Regions from separate parts of the Homo sapiens genome. Here region 2 is linked to region 1. The links are contacts of gene promoters, found by promoter capture Hi-C in human tissues and cell types (Jung and others, 2019). All regions are on one chromosome and are shown on one strand. The core of a region is centred on a gene start or on the middle of the fragment in contact, and the rest is flanking DNA. Distances in the headings are between cores, read along the strand shown. Region 1 holds the start of SHB (SH2 domain containing adaptor protein B). Region 2 has its middle 94 kb from the start of ALDH1B1.

What was found. Contacts are between HindIII fragments. The study calls those that stand out against the background at their distance.
Region 2: a fragment that was not itself captured here is called in contact with the fragment with the promoter of SHB in region 1 in 3 of the 25 tissues and cell types used here (liver, lymphoblastoid cells and pancreas).

The regions. Positions count from the first base shown.
Region 1 is chr9:38,067,593-38,071,193 of GRCh38, forward strand. SHB (SH2 domain containing adaptor protein B) reads right to left here and starts at 1,635. Exons shown (of 6, transcript NM_003028.3): 1 at 337-1,635. The coding sequence starts at 1,053. RefSeq lists an enhancer at 72-875 and silencers at 766-815, 1,236-2,045. The HindIII fragment of the contact is 6,868 bases long and covers 1-3,601 here.
Region 2 is chr9:38,297,321-38,300,955 of GRCh38, forward strand. No RefSeq gene overlaps it. Among named protein-coding and RNA genes, the nearest start is that of ALDH1B1, 94 kb to the right of the region's middle. The HindIII fragment of the contact is 5,577 bases long and covers 1-3,635 here.

The sequences.
Region 1 (3,601 bases), core at 385-2,884:
AGCTCTTCGAAGTCCTAGACAGCTCTGACTCTGACTTTACTCCTTGGCAGCCAGAAGGACTGACTGGGTCCGTCTTCCTGGGGCAAGGCTGGGCCGGGCGCTCTCGCTCAGAGGGGACGTTCTGGAAGCAGCGGCGAAAGAGGTGGGGTCAGGAGGCCGCCGGTCCCAGGAAAAGGGCGCGGGAGGAGGCAGAAGCGGGAAGCAGCACGCCAGCCCCGACCCAGGGTCCTAGGCCGAAGCTGAAGTAGAGACTCAACACCAGAGCGGCGGGTGCCTCGGTTTCCCCGTGCGCACCGTGGCTCTGGAACCTCGGGAAGAGGCCAAGGGGCACCTTACCTTGTCCTTCTTGCCGGCCCCGCTCTCCTCCGCGGCTGAGGCGGCGCACTTGTTGAGCAGTTTCTTGCCTCCGCAGGCCGTCGGGCTCCAGGTGCGGCCGCCCGCGCAGGCGCCCCCCAGGGGGTCCCCGGCCCCACCGCCCGCGGCGCTCTCCACTTTGATGAGGCGGTGCTTGGGGGAGATGTAGCGCACCTCGGCCGGCGTGGCGGGCCGCCGCTCGCTGCTGCTGCGGTAGAGATGCGGAGAGCCGGAGGACGAGGACGAGGACGCGGCGGCCCCCGCGCCCGAGGAGGCGCAGCAACAGCCCGCGGCGCCCGACGCGGACGAGGCCGAGAAGGCGCGCTGGACCCCGCCTGGCTCCCCGCTGCCGCCGCAGTAGTCCAGGCGGCACATGGCGCGCAGTTTGCGCAGCGACGAGCCAGGCCCGTTGTAGGGGTCCTCGAAGTCTCGCTCCTTCTGCGCGCGGTAGGCGCGGATGAGGTCGCTGGTGCTGCCGCTGTCGTCGGGCAGCGAGCCCGAAGAGGCTGAGAAGCAGGAGGCGGTGGCCGGACCGCAGGACGCCGAGGCGGCGGAGGAGGCCTGCGGCACGGCCTGGGGGGGCTGCGAAGGCCGCTCGCCTCGGCGCCGCTGCTCGCGGTAGTCTGGCCGCGGCGGCTGCGGGGGGCTCTTGGTCTTGCTGTTGCCCAAGCTGAAGTACTTGTTTAGCCACTTGGCCATGGCGAGAGGCCGCCTAGGGCCGCGGCGCGGGAGCCCGGTCCGCCGCCGCGGCCATTCGGGGGGCAGCGCTGCGGCGCAGGTCCCTCGGCGCCCCGGCCCCGGCGGGGGGCGTCCGGGGCGCCCGCTCCCGACGCCAAGTTCAAGTTCTTGCCGCCGCCGCCTCCTGCCGGCAGCTCTCTGGCTCCGGCGGCTGCAACACCTCCCTCCGCCTAGCGCCGCCCAAGCTAGGAATCTCGCGCCCCTCGTGGGCGCGTCTCATGGGGTCCCGGCCCACGCCCGGGGGAGAGCGGAAGGTCCGAGCGCTCCACGCCGCGGACCCTTTGGCCGTACGCCCCTCGCCGTGGATCGCGCTCCTGCCCCGTCGGAGCCGCAGCCTCCGCCTTGGCCGGGATCCGCGGCTGCCGCGGGAACTTCTCGGCGTCCTCGGCTCCCTTCTTCCTTCCTGCGAGCGCTGGGGAGAGCTCGGCCCCGCAGCGGAGGAGAATGCGGCCGGGAGAGACAGCGAGCGACGGAGGAAGGCAGCCGGCGCCCGCCGGAGCCCGCGCGCCCGTGCCCGTCCCGGCGGCGCCTGTCGCTGCCACTGCCGCCGCCTCCCGAGCCGCCGCGTGTGTGACACTCAGGCCGCCAGAGCCCGCCCCGCGCCGCCGCCCCGCCCCCCCGGAGCCCGCTCGCGCGCCCCGCCCCCCGCCCGCTCCCGCAGACCCAGCACCGCCCATCCCCGCGAGCCTGGCCCCGGGCCGCGGCCCAAGCCCCGCCCCCCTCGCGCCCGGGGCCGGGGTGGGCGCACCTCTCCGCTCCTGCACACGCCACCTCCCGCGGCTGCCCTGGCGCCAGCACCAGGGTCTTGCCCCAGGGCGCTGGGGTCCCGCCGCGCAGCCGGCTCCACCTAGCTTGCAGCTCGCCGCCGCCTCGGGCGAGAGGTTGCCTGGCGGAGCCTGCTACGCGCAGAGGCCAAACCTTTCCGCAGTCCCCCGGGACCCCGCGCGTTGTTCACTCCAGGGATCCCCCTGTCGGGGTTGAGGAGGGAGAGTGGATTAACACGGAACCTGTCTAGTTTACAGCGTGGCCCGTGTGGAGGAAATGCAGTGCCTAGTGCCCTTAGGGACAGAGTGGCTGTCCCTCTTCCTTAAAGGGACAGACTCCGGTTCAGCCCCGTGCGCCAGGTCTTCGGAGGAATCTTTATGCTAATGAGTGTATTAGCAGTCCAGATGACGGATGTGGTCGGGATAGGCGGTGGGAGCCGGGCCCAGCACCAATCCGAGAGCAAGGCTAGGGGAGGTCGGAATGTTTGCTTACCTTTTCACCTCTGAGGAAGTCGAGGCTTTAGCCCTGTTCGCTGCCAGCCGGCGGGGAGCAAGTTGTGGGAACATTTAATGCCTTATGTTGTAGGAGCTGGCAAGGATCCATTTAATACAGGACCTCGGCCGGGTGCGGTGTCTCACGCCTGTAATCCCAGCACTTTGGGAGGCCGAGGCGGGTGGATCACGAGGTCAGGAGTTTAATACCAGCCTGGCCAAGATGGTGAAACCCCGTCTCTACTAAAAATACAAAAATTAGCCGGGTGTGGTGGCGGGTACCTGTAATCCCAGCAGCTACTCGGAAGGCTGAGGCAGAGAATTGCTTGAACCTGGGAGGCAGAGGTTGCAGTGAGCCGAGATCACACCACTTCACTCCAGCCTGGGCGACAGAGGGAGATTCCGTCTCAAAAAATAAATACAGGACCTCATTTTACAGATGGAGAAACTGAGGCCCAGAGGAAAGTCACACAGGTGGACTTGGATGCCAGTTCCTAAGTCGGGTGGCACCATAATTATGTCTTTTCCAAGAGTCTCTTCTTTGCGATTTCAGATCATCCTTTGATTATTAACCAAAATTGAGGAAACAGTCCCAGGGAGTGGCCTGATTTGGTCAGTGTAACTTTTCCTGGGATCTGCACCCAGGGGAGGTGGCATGCTCCCTGTTGAGAGGGAAATGCTGCCTAAAGATGAAGTAGCTGCCACTAGGGCCTGGTGCTGCTTTGAATTTGCCTGGGCAACCCTCAAAATGTGACTTAACTCTAAGATGTGGGCACCTGAGAGCTGAGAAATTCTCTAAGAATGTTGATTTACTAAAACAATAGCCCAAATCAATAATCTGCATTTGCTGTCTGTCTGTTATAGATGTGCTTTGGGGGAGTCTGTTTTTCCCATATCCTGTAGTAACAGTGGGAACTGTGAGGGCAGACAGCAAGGCCAGGGGCTCTTTTGATCACATCATAGTTCTGGCCACGCTGGAAGTAGAGGTCAAACTCAGATTTCAATCTGAGACATTTGGACAGGGAAGGCCTGAGAGCTGTTACTGCTTCCTCTCTGTAACCCACCCAGACTCATGCCTGAGGCCACAGCACAGAAGTGATAGAAGCAGGACTTGAACTCGGTCTTATCCTGAAGCTGACCTCTGTCTGCTCAGCCATACACAGTGGTAAAGTGAAATTGACTTCAAATTTGTTATTCCAGAATCAAGCTATTTGCCCTTTCCCTCCTTGGTCAGACAAAACTGTCATCCTCTG
Region 2 (3,635 bases), core at 486-2,985, 230 kb after region 1:
TCATCAATTCTCAAAGGTCAAGAACTGATCTGGCATGACCCTCTCGTCATGAAGAAAAGAAAACTGTGGGGTCTTTGGGATAGAAGAGACCAGCCAAGTTCCACTGGTAGGAAAGAGGCAGAACTGGGATTAGGAATTTGCAGACTCAGGTTCCAATTTGGCCTGGCCGGATCCCGGCTGTGTGACTTTGGGCTGGTTACCTTATTGCTCTGGTGTTTTATTACACACACATTTAAGGAGATGTCAAGGGGATTTTAAAAGGGAATTAATGACTTCAATACCTACTTACAGGAGGTGTGGAGCTGGTGCTCCATAAGTATTTTTTTAATCACCGAATAATGTTGAAAATCATTCTTTTCAACTATCATCTATTCAGCAAATATTTGTTGACTACCTCTTATATACCACATGCTGAGTGAACAAAGTAGGCACAGTCCCTGCCCTGGCAGAGTGGGAATTAAGAAGGGGCAGCAGTTAAGAAAACAGACCATTGTTATTGCTGTAACAATGAGCTATTACACTGTTGATGTAACCCTTGTAATGCAGTGTGATGAATGTCATAACAGGGTCAGCATAGGAACCTGCGAGAGCACAGGGTAGGGGTACCTAGCCAGAGGTAGTGTGGGGCGGGGGAATCAGGAAAGGCTTCCCAGAGGAGGCAACAAGTAAGCTGAGACCTGAAGGAGAAGCAAGAATTGGCCAGGCAAAGGGAGGGCTGGATTATCATCTAGAGAACAACACATGCAAAGGTCTAGAGGCCAAAGAAAGCTTGGTGCACTTCTTTAGGGAAGTCATAGATCAGTCTTGCTGTTTCTACCTGCTGCAGGCAGCCAGGAGAAGCCATACTGAAGTGCATTAATTCCTTTTGAAAATCCCCTTGACATCTCCTTAAATGCATTTGTAGTAAAACATTAGGGCAATAAGGTGACCAGCCCAAAGTCACACAGTCAGGATCTGGCCACGCCAAATTGGAACCTGAGAGGCCAAAGAAAGCTTGGTGCACTTCTTTAGGGAAGCCATAGATCAGTCTTAACTGATTTTAGCTGCTGCAGGCAGCCAGGAGAAGCCATGCTGAAATCAACATACATAGCCAGGACCTCGACATCCCTTTCATCTTTTATCACCAGTTTGTCTTTGCATTTACTTACTTAATGTTGGCACTTTTGTACATGGCCATCTCCTCCTCCCTGTCGATCCAAATAGTGCAGCTTCCCTCTAGCTCCTTGTCTCTAGAGGTGAGCAAATACTTACCTCCAGTAATGCTGGGATTAGAACCCAGATGGGACAGTCTGCTGAGCTCTTGTTGTCACAAGCAGACGATCATCGCGTGGCTTGCTGCGCTGTCCCAGGCTGGCTGAGCTCCCTGAGTTGCTGCCCTGCCAGGGACAGCCTGAGTGATCACCCCTGAGATGATTAATTCCTGCCTCCCATGGCCGGCCCTGGGTCTGCAGCCAAGTGCTGCTGTCATCTCTTTATTTTTCTGCTCTACTGTTATTGAAAATCAATAAGGCATCCAAGCTGAATGAAGTTTAGTGACTGGGACTGAGTCCATAAATCAAATAAAAACTAAATTATATTTAAAAAGGGAAAAAGGACTAAGAAGGCTGCTTTGGGGTGGAGTGCAGTCCCTGAGAGTTGGATATCACGGAGGCAAAGAGATGAGCAAGAAATGGATACTACCTGGTTGGTGGGTGGGCTGTATCAGGACTGGAAGTACTTCCGGGAACAGCTTATCCAGTCCCCTATTTTCCAGGTCAGAAGACTGAAGTTCAGAGGGGACTGAAGTCACACAGTGAGAGGCAGACCTGGCCCCAGACCCAGGCCCTGGGCCTCCTCTGCACCCACAGTTACTCTCCTTCTACCAACCGGCCTCAAATCAATTAGAAACAACAGCTGAAGTGAAGTGAATTCTAGAGGAAACCCAAGGAAGAGGTTTTAGATTTTTATGTTGTCAAATGTATCACTCTTTTACTTTACAGTTTCTGCATTTAATGTGGTGCTTTAAAATCCTAAACAAATATGTCTGTTTCCAGCCAAGGAGTCTCCAGAATAGTTCCTGGAGCTCACACAGAGCTGAGAATTTTTCATGTTCTCCCCAACTCAAGTGGAAAGACCTCCTACCACGCGGGATACTGAGTAGGATTCTCAGCCTTATTAGTGAGGCCAAATTAACCCTACCCTAAAAGCTGCTCTGTCACCCTCAAAAGGATACAATTGATTCATGCTCCAGAACAAAGTCCAATGGTATTTAAAGGGATATAATAAAATTCAGCAACCAACAAGGTAAAATTTGCAATATCCAGCACCGAAGTGCTCCCTTGGGCAGCAAGCACAGAAATAGGAAAATGTGGGTTACAACCGGATGGAAAACTAATTAGTAGAAACAAACCAATAAGTAATAGAAATTATAGAATTAGAAGACAAGAACATTAAAACAGCTATTATGACTCACAGGGTCAAGAAGGTAGAGGAAAATGACCAGGATGAAGAGTGAAATGGAAGTTTGTAAAATTTAAGCTCCAAATGGAATTTCTTGAAGTGAAAAATATAATATCTGAAATGAAACACATACACACAGATGGTAGTAATATGAGATTAGATTCTGAAGAAGGAAAAATCAGTGAACTTGAAGCTATAGCCTTAGAAACTATCCACAATGAAATATATGCTTACCATAGAGCAATCATACTACTGGGCCAAGAGAAATGAAATCATGTTCACAAGAGGACTTGAATATTTATAGCTTTGTTCATAATGACGAAGAGCTAAAAATAAGCTAAACATCTGTGAACTGATGAAGAGATACGTAAGATGTGATATATCCATTCTTTTTATTATTCAGCAATAAAAGGAATGAACTACTGATACTTGCAACAACGTGAGTGAATGTCAAAAGCATTATGTTGACTAAATTTACATGAAATTCTAGAAAAGGTAAAACTACAGTTATAGAAGGCAGATCAGTGGTTGCCTAGGGTGCAGAATGAGAGAGAGTAAATTGATTGCAAAGGGTGTAAGGGAACTTTCTGGGTTAGAAATATTTTTATTAAAGTTGTGAAGATGATTATATAACTGTGTACATTTGTGAAAACTCAGTGTGTGTATGCTGGGGGGAGTATGGGTGTAGTTATAAAAGGACAGCATGAGGGGTCCTTGTAGCGATAGAACTCTTCAGTATCTTGACTATGGTATAAATACACCAACCTACACATGTGATGACATTGTATAGAACTAAATATACACATACAAGTGAGTATCAGGGAAAACTACACAAGATCAGTGGGGTGTTATCAATGTCAATATCCAGGTTATGATGTTGTATTATCACAATCATTAGTGGATCATTAGTGCTACAACTAGGGGAAAACTGGTTAAGGGTATATAGGATCTCTCTGTAATATTTCTTACAACTGCATGTGTAAGACAATTTTTACAATTATCTCAAAAAAATTTCAGTGAAATTTTTCAGTGATAATTGTAATTTAATTACAATTATCTCAAAAAAATTTCAGTGAAACTAGATTGTAGAAATAAAATTGCTAAATTTTATTGTATGTAAATTATTATTTCTCAGCAAAGCTGATTTTTAAAAAGCTCTATATGACACTCTAAAACAAAGTTATGTTTCTCTTTGT